Linked DNA regions of Homo sapiens: regions 1 and 3 are each linked to region 2. Evidence: promoter capture Hi-C in 16 types of primary human blood cells and fetal thymus (Javierre and others, 2016). All regions are on one chromosome and are shown on one strand. The core of a region is centred on a gene start or on the middle of the fragment in contact, and the rest is flanking DNA. Distances in the headings are between cores, read along the strand shown.

Region 1 (4,352 bases), core at 856-3,355, 460 kb after region 2:
AAGCAAAGATTGCAAACCATTTAACTTGCAAAAGGATTTCTTATTCTGGCATGAGATTTCTTCATTTTCTCAGTTTTGTTCCAAATCCTAGGGAAGCATGTTAAAAACCACTGAAAGTCATTGCTTACCTTTAAATCTGTGGAAACCCCGTGGTCAGCATTTGAAGTTTGCTTTACTGCCAAGGTTCTCTGCCACAAGAGACTTTTATTCTTTGATAATAATTAAGAGGTGGAAAAAGGGAAGTCACTACCAATTCTCCACTCCACAAAGTATATGAATTCATAATATGCCAACAGTGGCCAAAATGTCCTACTTCTAAGGCTATGTTACACCCTTAGAAAGATTTATACATAAGTCAGGGAGAGACAGGGTTAGGCTTCTTTTGTACTTCGATCATCGTAGAATGCCCACCTTCACACCCTGCAATAATTCCAACAGTACGTGTGCTTGGGGACCCAGAGAATTTTACAGTCTCCATATAGCACCCCCCTCCACTTCTTCCCTCAACCTGCTCCCACCAATGCACTGTTAGGAGGATGAAGGGTAAGGAGGACACACAACTTTCTCTTATAAAGGGTGGAAGCTTACCCTAAGAATGGAAATAAACTTGCAGACCAGTTCTCAGAGAGATCAAACTTTTGAAAAAGTTCAAAATCTGGTAGATGAAGCCCTTAGAACAGACGTCAGCCACTCTGAGACCAGCGTCAGAGTGGTCTCAGAGTGGCTGAGGCCCACCGCCTATTTTTGTTCAGCCCACTGCTAAGAATGGTTTTTGCATTTTTATTTTTTATTTTTTTGAGACGGAGTTTTGCTCTGTTGCCCAGGCTGGAGTGCAGTGGGGAGATCTCAGTTCACTGCAACCTCCGCCCCTCGGGTTCAAACGATTCTCCTGCCTCAGCCTCCAGAGCAGTTGGGATTACAGGCGCAGGCAACCATGCCTGGATAATTTTTGTATTTTGTAGAGACGGGGTTTCAGCATGTTGGCCAGGCTGGTCTCAAACTCCTGAGCTCAAGTGATCCGCCGCCTCAGCCTCCCAAAGTGCTGGGATTACAGGCATGACTCACTGCATCCGGCCTGCATTTTTATTATAAAATGTCATTTATTTATTTATTTATTTATTTATTTATTTATTTATTTATTTTTGAGACAGGGTCTCACTCGGTCACCCAGGCTGGAGTGCAGTGAGCGATCATGGCTCACTGCAACTTTCACCTCTCTGGCTCAAGCAGTCCTCCCACCTCAGCCTCCAGAGTAGCTGGGCCACAGGGGTGCACCACAATGCCTGGTTAATTTCTTTAAAAACTTTTTGTAGAGATGGGGGTCTCATTATGGTTGCCCAGGCTGGTCTCCAATTCCTGGGCTCAAGGGATCCTCCTATTCCTCGGCCTCCCAAAGTGCTGGGATTACAGGCGTGAGCCATAGAGCCCAGCCGATTTTTGCATGTTTAAATGGTTGGGAATAAAGTCAAAAGAATAATAATATTTCGTGACACATGAAAATTATATTAAATTCAAATGTCGGTGTCTATAAATAATGTTTTATTAGGACCTAGCTGCCCTCATTCCTTTAGTATTTATGGCTGCTTTTGAGCTACGACGCTCGAGTTTGAATAGTTGCCACAGGGATCGTATGGCCCGCAAAACCTAAAATATTTAGCCCTTTACAGAATAGTTTGCTGTCCCCTGTCTTAACACGGTTCACATCCCATTTGGGAAGTTCTGTGTCTTCAGAGGGGAGCACACCCGGTATGAAGGCTGGTCTAAACTCAACACCCTAGGGAAGTCCTTCCCGTCCCTGGGCCTTAGTTTCCCCAACTATAAAATGGGGTTAGCCGCAGTGATCTCTGGGGACCTGCCTGGCAGTGGGTCAAATAAATAAAGGGAGTTGGAGCTCCCGGAGGGTAGGACTAGGGGTTGAGTAGGAGCCGGCGGGCTCGGGCAGGGCGGGTCCCTTGGGGTTTCCAACTCCGCGGGCGGGCGCAGTGCCCCGCAGGCCTCGCTTCCACTGGGGAATTCCGGGCGGGGTGCGGGCGGCGGGGCGGGGGCGGGCCGGGGCGGGGCCGGTAGGCCGCCTATAAGATGGGTGGCGCGCCCGCCCGGGGCCACTCGCCGCAGCCTGCGCGCCTTCTCCAGTCCGCGGTGCCATGGCCCCCGCCCGTCTGTTCGCGCTGCTGCTGTTCTTCGTAGGCGGAGTCGCCGAGTCGGTGGGTGCTTGGAGGTTCCCGGGCTGGGGGCGAAGCGGGGGCGCAGGCCGGTGCCTCCTTTGTTCGTCGGAGCGTGGGATGGGGGGGGGCAGATCGGGGGTACGCTACCCCCAACCGGACACCGAGGCCCGGGAAACTTTGTTGGAAACTTTGCTCCGGGGTCACGGGCCAGCCTCCGGGATGGCTTCACGCGCCGTGCGCCCCTCGCCTGTTGCTCTTCCCGCCTCCCCGGGCCTCAGCCCCGCCGCGGGCTACGGGCTCGTTAGTGACTAAGCCGGTGTCAACTCTTCAACTCCCACACCCTCGTCCCTTCCCTGGTGACCCTGGGGCAGGCTTGGAGCGCTGAATCCCCTCCTCGCTCTCGGGGCGCCCAGAGCAGACAGCTTTAGGATCCGAGATGGCCCTGGGGGTCGGGGGGCTGCGTGTACTCGGAAGGGGGAGGGTTTTAGGGTTGTGCGAGGCCCTCTTTCACACACCAAGGAGAACTGAGCCCTAACCTCAGTTCTGGCCCCAGCTCTGTCATTGACTTGTGACTTAGGGCAAAGTCCTGCCCTTCTGAATCTCTTCCCAATACTGCACCAAGGGTCTGAGGGAATGGGGCAAGAGGGGACACTGCGTTAGGGTTTCTAGAAAGTTGGGGACTCTGCTCTTTTCGAGGACAGAGGAGAGGAATGGTTTAGACTCAACACTTAGCCAGGAGCTGAGCCTCTGCTTTCTGCAAGAAGTGTGTTCATTTTTTCTCAATTGCAGATAAGAAAATTGAAGCATCCACCTTGAGTGAGGTGAAGGGGGTAGGGGGGAGAGAAGGCCTCAATCAGCCCAGGGAAACCTTTCCTTCTCACTGTCCACTGGCCTCCGTCATAGCTGTCCCTGGGCCAGCAGAAGCTCTATCCATGCCCGCAGCCGGCTTAGGAGGAGGGGGGCAATCTCATCTGGGAAGTTGGGGGGCATGGGAATTACTGGTGAAGGCAATCTGTCCCCCACAGCCTGAGCTTTGTGCCCCCTTTGTGCCCTTTAGCCCCAGTTTTCAGAGCGAGTGAGTCCTTGCAGTTTAACCATTAATGTTAATTTCTTTGAAAGCCTTGGGGCTCCTGTTCCTCTGAATTTACTTAGCGGAAGGTTGATTCTGCCTGCAGGCTCTTCTTGAGGAATGAATGAGACCCTAGGCAATACTTCCAGCACAATTCCAGGCATGCCATGATGATTGCAAACGTGGAGCGCCTTTGTCGGGGGGCCAGACATTGCTCTAATAACTTTCTAATGGGTATATCCAGGAGCTTAATTCCAACAACAATCTTACTGTGTACTGTTCTTAAACTGGTCCTGAGGCTAGAGAGGTTAAGTAACTTGCCCAGGGTCACACAGTTAATACACAATAAATGGGTGAGTCAGATTGAAATTTAGGCAGCCAGGCTTTCAAGTTTCTGCTTTAGCTTAACTTCTACTCTTTGTGCTACTCCAGGTGTCCCATCGTTGGTAACTAAAGACGGGTTTAGAATAGGTTGAGATTTTAGGCTGGAAGGCAAAGGAATTCTGAGGTGGAAGGAAACAAGGCCAGAGTGAGGTGATGACTTAACCTAAACCAAAGGCTACCTTGCCTAAAATGTTAGTGGCTGAGGACCCAAGCCTTCTGCCTCTAGCACAGTGCTCTAAACTAGGCCCTGAAGGATGTGTCGGGTCAAGCAACTGGGGAAGCATCCGAAGGGATACCACCTAGGCAGTACAGGGAAAAAGAGGAAAGGACCCAGGAGGTTGCTGAGGTCACCGTGTGCCCAGTCACATGCCAGTTTCCTCCCAGGGGCTGCTGAGCCTTCAGGTGCTTCAGGGTGCTGAGCAGTCAGCTGTGTCCTGGGGGCATTCTGAAGGATGTAGTTTGGGGGAAGGGGACTGTGTCAGTCCTGCCTGGGTGACCCATCAGCTGCAGGAGACATCAGCCCTGGGCAGCTGCTTCCTGAGATAGGTGTCAAGTCTCATCCTGACCTCAGCTCTCCCCTTCCTGGCTAATGTCACAGACCTCCTGCCTGTAACTGGGGCACAGGGCTTCCCCTTTGGCCTGTCCCCTCCCTCTTTTCTAGATTGTGGTTGGAAAAATCAGACATAGTCACGGTTGGCTCGGACTGAAGAGATGATCCAGCGTGTCCTTTTCTT
Region 2 (4,196 bases), core at 1,052-3,551:
ATGGCGTGAACCCGGGAAGCGGAGCTTGCAGTGAGCCGAGATTGCGCCACTGCAGTCCGCAGTCTGGCCTGGGCGACAGAGCGAGACTCCGTCTCAAAAAAAAAAAAAAAAGAATATTAGTTGCTAATACGTAAAAATTAGATTTGGCACAGATTTGGACTTCTGACTCATCTTAAACCTGATCTGCAGCAATGGGAAGCTGCCTTCTTGAGATCTGGCCCTATTGGCCAAAGTCCTCACTTCATCCATTTCCTTGCTGTCTGTCCCCCCATGTAAACATCTAAGATAGGCAGCCCTGCTTTAAACCCACCCTTTATTGCACAGAGGGAAAGAACAAGGCCACATGGCTCAGAGAATGTAAACAGTCACAGGAGGAGTGTCTTGCTCCGCCAAAGGCTTGAAGCAGAGCTCGCACTTGGATCTCACTTCCCACCTTTCCCCAGACTCACTCACCCATCCCAGCCCTACACTTACTGTTCCAGCTGCTCCATGGATGGTCCCTACCCATTTGAAAAGGTTGTCTGATTCAGGGAAGGCAGAAATCCCTTTATCGCCAGACATCTGGGGAGAAAACACATTTGTTGGAATGTGGAGTACACTTTTGGGCATAGCAAAGGTCAGTGGGTGAGCTTTCCCCTTAATTTTATATATATATATATATATATATATATATGCTCACATACACACACACACATATATATGTATACACACACACATATATATGTGTATATATATGAGATATAGATGGGGTTATGCCATCTCTACTAAAAAATATATATTTACATATATATATATATAGAGAGAGAGAGAGAGAGATTGAGAGAGAGAGATAGACAGAGACAGACACACACACACACTCTGTCGCCCAGGCTAGAGTGCAGTGGTGCGCTCGGCTCACCGCAACCTCTGTCTCCACGGTTCAAATGATTCTTGTGCCTCAGCCTCCCGAGTAGCTGAAATTACAGGCATGCACCACCATGCCTGGATAATTTTTGTATTTTTAGTAGAGACAGGGTTTTGCAATGTTGGCCAGGCTGGTCTCGAACTCCTGACCTCAAGTGATCCGCCCACCTTAGCCCCCCAAAGTGTTGGGATTATAAGGTGTGAGCTACCGCGCCCAGCCTCCCCTTAATCTCATCACTCTGATCCAAAATAAAGCAACCAAATTCATAGGCTAGAAATACCAAGAAGGGCGGGGAGTTGGGTGTGGGTAAAGCTTGGTTGGGGCTAGGAAGTAGGGACACACTGGATAGGGAGGGTCTTGTATGACTTCAGGGAAGTGTTCGAGATAACTTCGTGTGGGGGGATGGAATTGGGAGGAGGGACTGCTGGAAGAAATGGTGTAGGTGGGGTGTATGAACTTCTTTCCCAGGAGGGAGCAAATTACATTACCCCTATGTCTAGCAAAAAAGCTGACGGAAAAAAGGAGGCTACTGAAAATTGGATGGAAGGCTGGGGTTCTGGGCACTTAATCACTCACCATGAGGGTCATCAGCTCCTGCTGTAGCCTGAAAAAAGAGTATTCGGGGTTACCTGGGAGTCTGGATGGGCCAGGCCTCCAGACGGTGCATCTTCTCCCACCTGAATCTCAGGGGGAGCCGTCATGGAGGCTCCCCACATCACCAAGGTCAGGCTCAGCTCAGGGTATACTCACCAGATCCACAGGACGATCCTAGCGAGTCCTCACCCTCCCTAATTCCAGACTCCCTCGGGATGATTCTGGCATGTTCTTAATTCCCCAGGCTTTAGCATCTCTTCCTTGCCCGACTCAACTTCTCCCTTCCCCTGTCTCGGCCAAGTCACGAGGGTCCTTGAGCGTCTTCATCTAGGCCCACCAGGGAAGGAGTCTGGCAGCGCCCCTACCCTCCCATTCTCCTTCGGGAGAGTCTCAAAGAGCGGTCTGAGCTCCTGGCCTGTCCCCCATCTCTCGAATCTCACCCGCGCAAGGAGGTGGGAGTCCCGGAAGTCTCCGCCCTCGACACCCATGCCCAGGGGAATGCCAGGCCCCGAGCTCCTGGTGTGTTCTCCTGCACCCGCAGATCTCCCGCTCCAGGAGGTGGCGGCGGGGGGTGGTCCTAGAAATCTTTGCTCTGGGTACCAATGCCTAGGGCATGGCAGGCCCGGCGAGTGGTAGGCCGCATCACTCACCTTTTGCCCACCGGACCCCGGGCGGCGCCCCCGCTCGGCTCAGCTCCTTTACGGGCGGCGGCGACGCTAGTGGCGGCTGGGTCGCGGTTTTGGGAAGCCATCCGGGCGGCGTTGGCAGAGAGACAGGAACTCGGAGAACACGACTGCAACTGCAGGACTGCGGGCCCGCCCGCCCGCGTTTGAATTGTAACCCTCTGGGGGCGTCGACCAATCAATGGCTCGCTTGGGTTTGATCCAGCCAATGAGACGCTCCGGAGCGCTCTATTGCTGCGCCACTGCTAGACCTACCCACTGGCGCACCGCTATTGGGCGGCAGAATCCCGCTTCTGACAACCGATTGGTAGATGATGCTGCCATTAACTAACGAATCCGTAGCGAATTGGTGGCCGTTGGAAAACGCTAACCATTAAAGGGCCAAGAAAACGTCCACGTGGGATGAACCCCTCCTTCTGGCTACACGTCTTACTCCGCGTGGGAACACTCGGCACGCCCAGCCTTGATCCAATTTCCCTCGGGCAGGGAGTGCCTCCAATCCTGCAGCACTGGTACCCTCCCACCATTATAATCGCCTGGGCACCTTTGCTGCGTCCTAAGTATCTGAAAATCCCAGCGAGGGGAAAAACTAAAGGCTGATGGCCAGAGCAGCAGGCTCCCTATTAGAAAACATAGGTCCATACATCTCCGCAGAGATGACAGAAATAAAAAAAGGCAACATTGGTTCAGGCTGGTCGCAGTGGCTCACGTCCGTAATCCCGAACACTTTGGAAGGCCCAGGCAGGAGGATCACTTGAACCCAGGAGTTCGAGACCAGCCTGAGCAACAGGATAGGGAGACCTGTCTCTACTTAAAAGAAAAAAAAAAAAAAAGAAAAGAAAAAAAAAAAAGGCTGGTGAGGTGGCACGAGCCTGTAGTCCCAGCTACTGGCGAGGCTGAGGCGGGAGAATCGCTTGAGCCAGAGGCTGCACTCTAGCCTGGGCAACAGAGCAAGACTGTCTTCAAACAAACAAAAACCCCAACAACACAGGTTCATATCCTGTATATCCTACCTCCCCAGTGGGTAGTGTGTAACCTTGGGGCGGGTCCTTTAGTATCTTAACCTGTAAAATGGGAGCAATAAAAGCCAACTCTATTTTTCATATGATCTGTCATCAAACTCCATCGCATTCTGCCATGTCCTTACATTAGCTGGGTAAGGAAACTACAAATGGGCAAAGGGAAGACGGGCAGGGTACATGGTGCTCCCAGGTTGGTCTTATCAAGCCTGGCTCTATACTGTTATGGGTGAGGGTTATCTCGTCCTTTTTTCCTACACCCACTTCTAGAGCCCTTGATGTTCTGTCAATTCCCACAAGGTAGAGGGCACAGCAGGTTCACCATCTGTGTTTACTACAAACTGTTTAATTGTTTCTTATCCCAATAACTTTACAAATATAGAACCACATGCTAGTCTGGGGGTGCTGTGCAGTGAGTCACTACAAACTCGCTCAGGCACAGCTTAATGCCGCTGAGATCCATCTAGGAGCAGTCCCAGCGGTGGCCTCAGCCACGTGAGGAAGAGGGCTTTGGAGGAGGGCTGCCAAGTGTGGCCAGGGGACCCGGCCTCAGGTCTGTGGAGGTGCTTCAACAGCACGATGCTCATTCTCTGTCCGTAGTGTCTCCATATACTTTCTCATCTTCTCCACCATCCAGGAGGGTAGGACAAAGGATTTCAATTCCTCTAGCTTCAGATCCAGGCATCCTCTGGAACAGACATTGAAGAGAGAAGTTGGGGGAAGTGAGGATGTAGGCCCTGCCTCATTCTAGGGGCTATTTGGAGGCAGGGAGAGGAGAAGGGGCAGGAGACCCACTGGTTTTACCTGTAATCATCACTGGCCGCAAGGTCCCGGATGTCCTCCTCGATGAGGAGGTAGGCCTGAGGCAGGAGCAAGGGAGAGTGGTCATTGCCTGATTCATTTCACTCCAACTCAGTAACACTTCATTAAACATCTGTTTAATGTAAGGCCTGCTACTAGGTGGAAGCGGGGGATGCGGTTTACAATTTAGTACGG
Region 3 (4,092 bases), core at 1,572-4,071, 490 kb after region 2:
GACAGAGCGAGACTCCATCTCAAAAAGAAAAAAAAAAAAAGAAGACCCCCATATTATCTATTGATATTTAAAATTACCCCCAAACTTAGGGGCTTATAACAACATAAATATTATCTCACATTGTTTCTGTGAGTCAGAAGTCAGGAGCATTAGCTGGGCGATTCTGGCTCCATCTTGTGAGGTTGCAGTCGACGTTGGCCAGGTCTTGCTGTCATCTGAAAGCTTGACTGGGCTGGAGGATCCACTTCCAAGATGGCTCAGTTACATTTCTGACAACTTGGTGCTGGCTATTTTGGCAGGAGGCCTCAGTTCCTCATTGCGTGGACCCACATAGAGCTGATTGACAGTCCTCGTGATGCGGCAGCTGGTTTCTCTCAGAACAAGCGATCCAAGAGAGCCACCAAGTGGAAGCTACAGTGACTTTTATGACTTAGCTTGGAAGTCACCCACTATCTCTTCCATAATATTGCATGGGTCACATGGGTCAGCCCTATTCATTGTGACAGGAGACCACCCAGGGGCAGGAGCACCTGGATACAAGACTCATTGGAAGCCATCCTAAATGCTGGCAGACATAGCCCCATCAGTGGTCAACCTCGACTAGGGCTTTATCTGTCTGGAGAGCCAACTCTGGTTATTTCTGATAATATATAATATTTCTGAGAATTGGGCAGTGGATGCAAAATGGATTTTGGACACTATTGGTCCACTTTTTGTTTTTTAATTTTTTGAGGTGGAGTCTCACTCTGTCGCCCAGGCTGGAGTGCCATGGTATGATCTCAGCTCACTGCTATCTCTGCCTCCCAGGTTCAAGTGATTCTCCTGCCTCAGCCTCCCAAGTAGCTGAGATTACAGGCATGTGCCACAATGCCTGGCTAATTTTTGTATTTTTAGTAGAGACAGGGTTTCACCATGTTGTCCAGGCTGGTCTCAAACTCCTGATCTCATGCGATCCGCCCACCTCGGCCTCCCAAAGTGTTGGGATTACAGGCATGAGCCACCACACCCGGCCAAAATGTAGGCACAGGTTTAACTAGTTTTCTGTTTGTTTCCAACCTCGATTAAACTCACTAAATTTAGGGGGAAAATCTCGTGTTTTGGCCCGGTCTCAAACTGGTGACCTTTCATGTGTGAGGCGAATGTGATAACCACTACATTACAGAAGCCAGGCATGGGCCCACTTTTTGTTCATGATCTTGCCAATCTTCAGAGGTAGCAAAACCATGGGACAATGCCTGCATGGGGTGTGGGAAGGCCTACAAGTGAAACACATCTCCCCTACTTATGATTTGCTATGTTGTTTGGGGAGTAGACAGAATTCTAAGATGGCCTGCAAGATTTCTGCCCTATATATACAACCTGTATAATTCTCTCTCCTTGAGGACCTGTAAATATGATGGGATGCCACAAGGTTTATGATTAGTTTACATTAGATAGCAAAGGTGAAAGTGCCCATCTGGTGGCAAGCAGCCAGCTGTAGTGGGGGTTTATCACTTTGCCCTCTAAATGCATTATTGTGCCACTGCTACCCTGCCTGCCTTTGTCCCTTAGGGTCTGGAACAGGGCCAAGCCTGTCTAGGAGGCTGTTCTGAGCTGGTCTGTGGCAAAACCTTATAGATGGTTTTGTTTGTTTGTTTTTCTTTTTTTAGACAGTCTCGCTCTGTTGCCCAGGCTGGAGTGCAGTGGCACAATCTCGGCTCACTGCAACCTCTGCCTCCTAGGTGCAAGCGATTCTTGTGCCTCAGCCACCCAAGTAGCTGGGACTACAGGTGCACGCCACCACGTCTGGCTACATTTTGTATTTTTTATTTTTTGAGACAGAGTCTTGTTGTCACCCAAGCTGGAGTGCAGTGGCGTGATCTCAGCTCACTGCAACTTTCGCCTCCTGGGTTCAAGCGATTCTTCTGTCCCAGTCTCCCAAGTAGCTGGGATTACAGGTGTGAGCCACCGTGCCCAGCCTATTTTTGTATTTTTAGTAGAGACGGGGTTTTACCATGTTGGCCAGGCTGGTCTGGAACTCCTGACCTCAAGTGATCTGAAGTGATCTGCCTGGCTCGGCCTCCCAAAGTGCTAGGATTACAAGTGTGAGCCACCATGCCTGGCCACAACCTTATAGATGTATTATGGGTTTCACTTCCCTTAAAACCACTTCCTCTTTCCCTTGCCATCTTCACAGGTCTGTGCCCTACCCAGGGGGAAGCTGTCAGAGAATTTTACCTATGCTGTGGTTATAACTTAATAGAAGTTAAAAAAAAAAAAGAAAGAAAGAAAGAGAGAGAAACCCCAAGGTCGGTACTTACTGGGGAACTAGCTTGTTAATAATGGTGGAACACCAGGCAGCATGAGAGCTGGTAAATTGGAGATTTGGGCCTTATCCTCACTACATGCCCCATCCCCACCCTCTGCAACACACATGTCACCTACACACAGCAGCGTGGTAGAATGAGAATGAAGAGAAACTCAGAGCCCCAGATTTAGTGGTAGGAGTGCAGGATTTGAATCAATTGTAGGCTTTGCCATCTGCTGTGACCTTAGCCTCCTCTCTTGGAGCCTCAGTTTCCCCATCTATAAAATGAGGAGGAAATACTGACTAGGGCCATGATTCTTAACCCTGGCTGCTCACTAGATTCACATGGGAGGGTTTCAAACAATACAGATGCCTGAGCTCCACACTCAGAGATGTTAATAGAATTGTTCCATGGCGTGGCCGGTATATTATTAGTATTATTTTTTTTTTTGAGACGGAGTTTCACTCTGCTGGAGAGACCCTAGGCTGGAGTGCAGTGGCGTGATCTCAGTTCGCTGCAGCCTCTGCCTCCTGGGTTCAAGCAATTCTCCTGCCTCAGCCTCCTGAGTAGCTGGGATTACAGGCACACGCCACCACGCCTGGCTAATGTTTTGAATTTTTAGTAGAGACAGGGTTTCACCATGTTGGCCAGGCTGGTCTCAAACTCCTGACCTCAGGTGATCCACCCACCTCGACCTCCCAAAGTGCTGGGATTACAGGCGTGAGCCACTGCGCCCGGCCCGGTATATTAATTTTTATAGCGTGGCAAATGATTCTAATATAAAGAGGACTAAATTAATCCATAAATGGGTTTTAGTGTTAGGAAATTCCCTGGAAGTATGTAGAATTCTGTGCATAAACCCCCAAAGGGTCTCCCTCTGTCACCCAGGCTGGAGTGTAGTGGCACAATCACAGCTCACTGCAGCTTCCACTACCTGTGCTCCAGTGATCCTCCCTCCTCAGCATCCCCCCGCCCCCACCCCATAGCTGGGACTACAGGCGTGCACCACCACACCGGCTAATTATTATTATTATTTTTTTATTTTTTTGAGACGGAGTCTCACTCTGTCCCCCAGGCTGGAGTGCAGTGGCACGATCTCGGCTCACTGCAAGCTCCGCCTCCCGGGTTCACGCCATTCTCCTGCCTCAGCCTCCCAAGTAGCTGGGACTACAGTCGCCCGCCACCACGCCTGGCTAATTTTTTGTATTTTTTGGTAGAGACGGGGTTTCACCGGGTTAGCCAGGTTGGTCTCTTATCTCCTGACCTCGTGATCCGCCCGCCTCGGCCTCCCAAAGTGCTGGGATTACAGGCGTGAGCCACTGCGCCCGGCCCTATTTTTACATTTTTTTGTAGAGATGGGGGAGGGGGTCTTGTTATGTTGCCCAGGGTGGTCTCGAACTCCTGGGCTTAAGTGATCCTTGCGCCTCGGCCTACCAAAGGGCTGGGATTAAGGCCCGGTTTTTAAATATAAATAAAATGAGAACTTAATGCTCGGGTGGAGAACAGTGCCACCTGCCGGTTTCACTTTGCATTAGCAATATCTAAATATCTGCCAATGCCATATAATGCAATTCACTGTTTATTGAGCACCAACTCAACATGCGAGGCATTGTGATGCACCCTTTAGGACATGCAGAGATAAGAGCTCCTTTCCCCATGAAGATGGCAGCCTAGAGGAGACAATGGGCATGTAGGTAAAACCTTTGATCCAAAGCAGGCAGTCGATATGGTCCCATTGAGGGTCTGTGGGAATACAAGAAAAAAGCCTGGGGCCAGGGCTGGCTTCGTGGTTGTGCAGCCTGTG

The links. Contacts are between HindIII fragments. The CHiCAGO score rates a contact against its expected background, and 5 or more counts as called.
Region 1: a contact is called between the fragment with the promoter of SDC4 here and the fragment with the promoter of UBE2C in region 2, in 10 of 17 cell types (erythroblasts, M2 macrophages, M0 macrophages and 7 more). The highest score is 13.7, in erythroblasts.
Region 3: a contact is called between a fragment that was not itself captured here and the fragment with the promoter of UBE2C in region 2, in 2 of 17 cell types (M0 macrophages and M1 macrophages). The highest score is 6.2, in M0 macrophages.

Annotation. Positions count from the first base shown.
Region 1 is chr20:45,346,177-45,350,528 of GRCh38, reverse strand. It overlaps SDC4 (syndecan 4), which reads left to right and starts at 2,105. Exons shown (of 5, transcript NM_002999.4): 1 at 2,105-2,204. The coding sequence starts at 2,145. The HindIII fragment of the contact is 6,082 bases long and covers 586-4,352 here.
Region 2 is chr20:45,810,749-45,814,944 of GRCh38, reverse strand. UBE2C (ubiquitin conjugating enzyme E2 C) reads right to left here and starts at 2,301. Exons shown (of 6, transcript NM_007019.4): 1 at 2,149-2,301; 2 at 1,481-1,508; 3 at 475-561. The coding sequence starts at 2,249. It overlaps DNTTIP1 (deoxynucleotidyltransferase terminal interacting protein 1), which reads right to left. Exons shown (of 13, transcript NM_052951.3): 12 at 4,005-4,060; 13 at 3,527-3,888. The coding sequence ends at 3,750. RefSeq lists a silencer at 2,309-2,498. The HindIII fragment of the contact is 3,801 bases long and covers 1,219-4,196 here.
Region 3 is chr20:45,319,435-45,323,526 of GRCh38, reverse strand. It overlaps the pseudogene TRV-CAC14-1. Among named protein-coding and RNA genes, the nearest start is that of MATN4, 13 kb to the right of the region's middle. RefSeq lists an enhancer at 2,197-2,246. The HindIII fragment of the contact is 5,194 bases long and covers 225-4,092 here.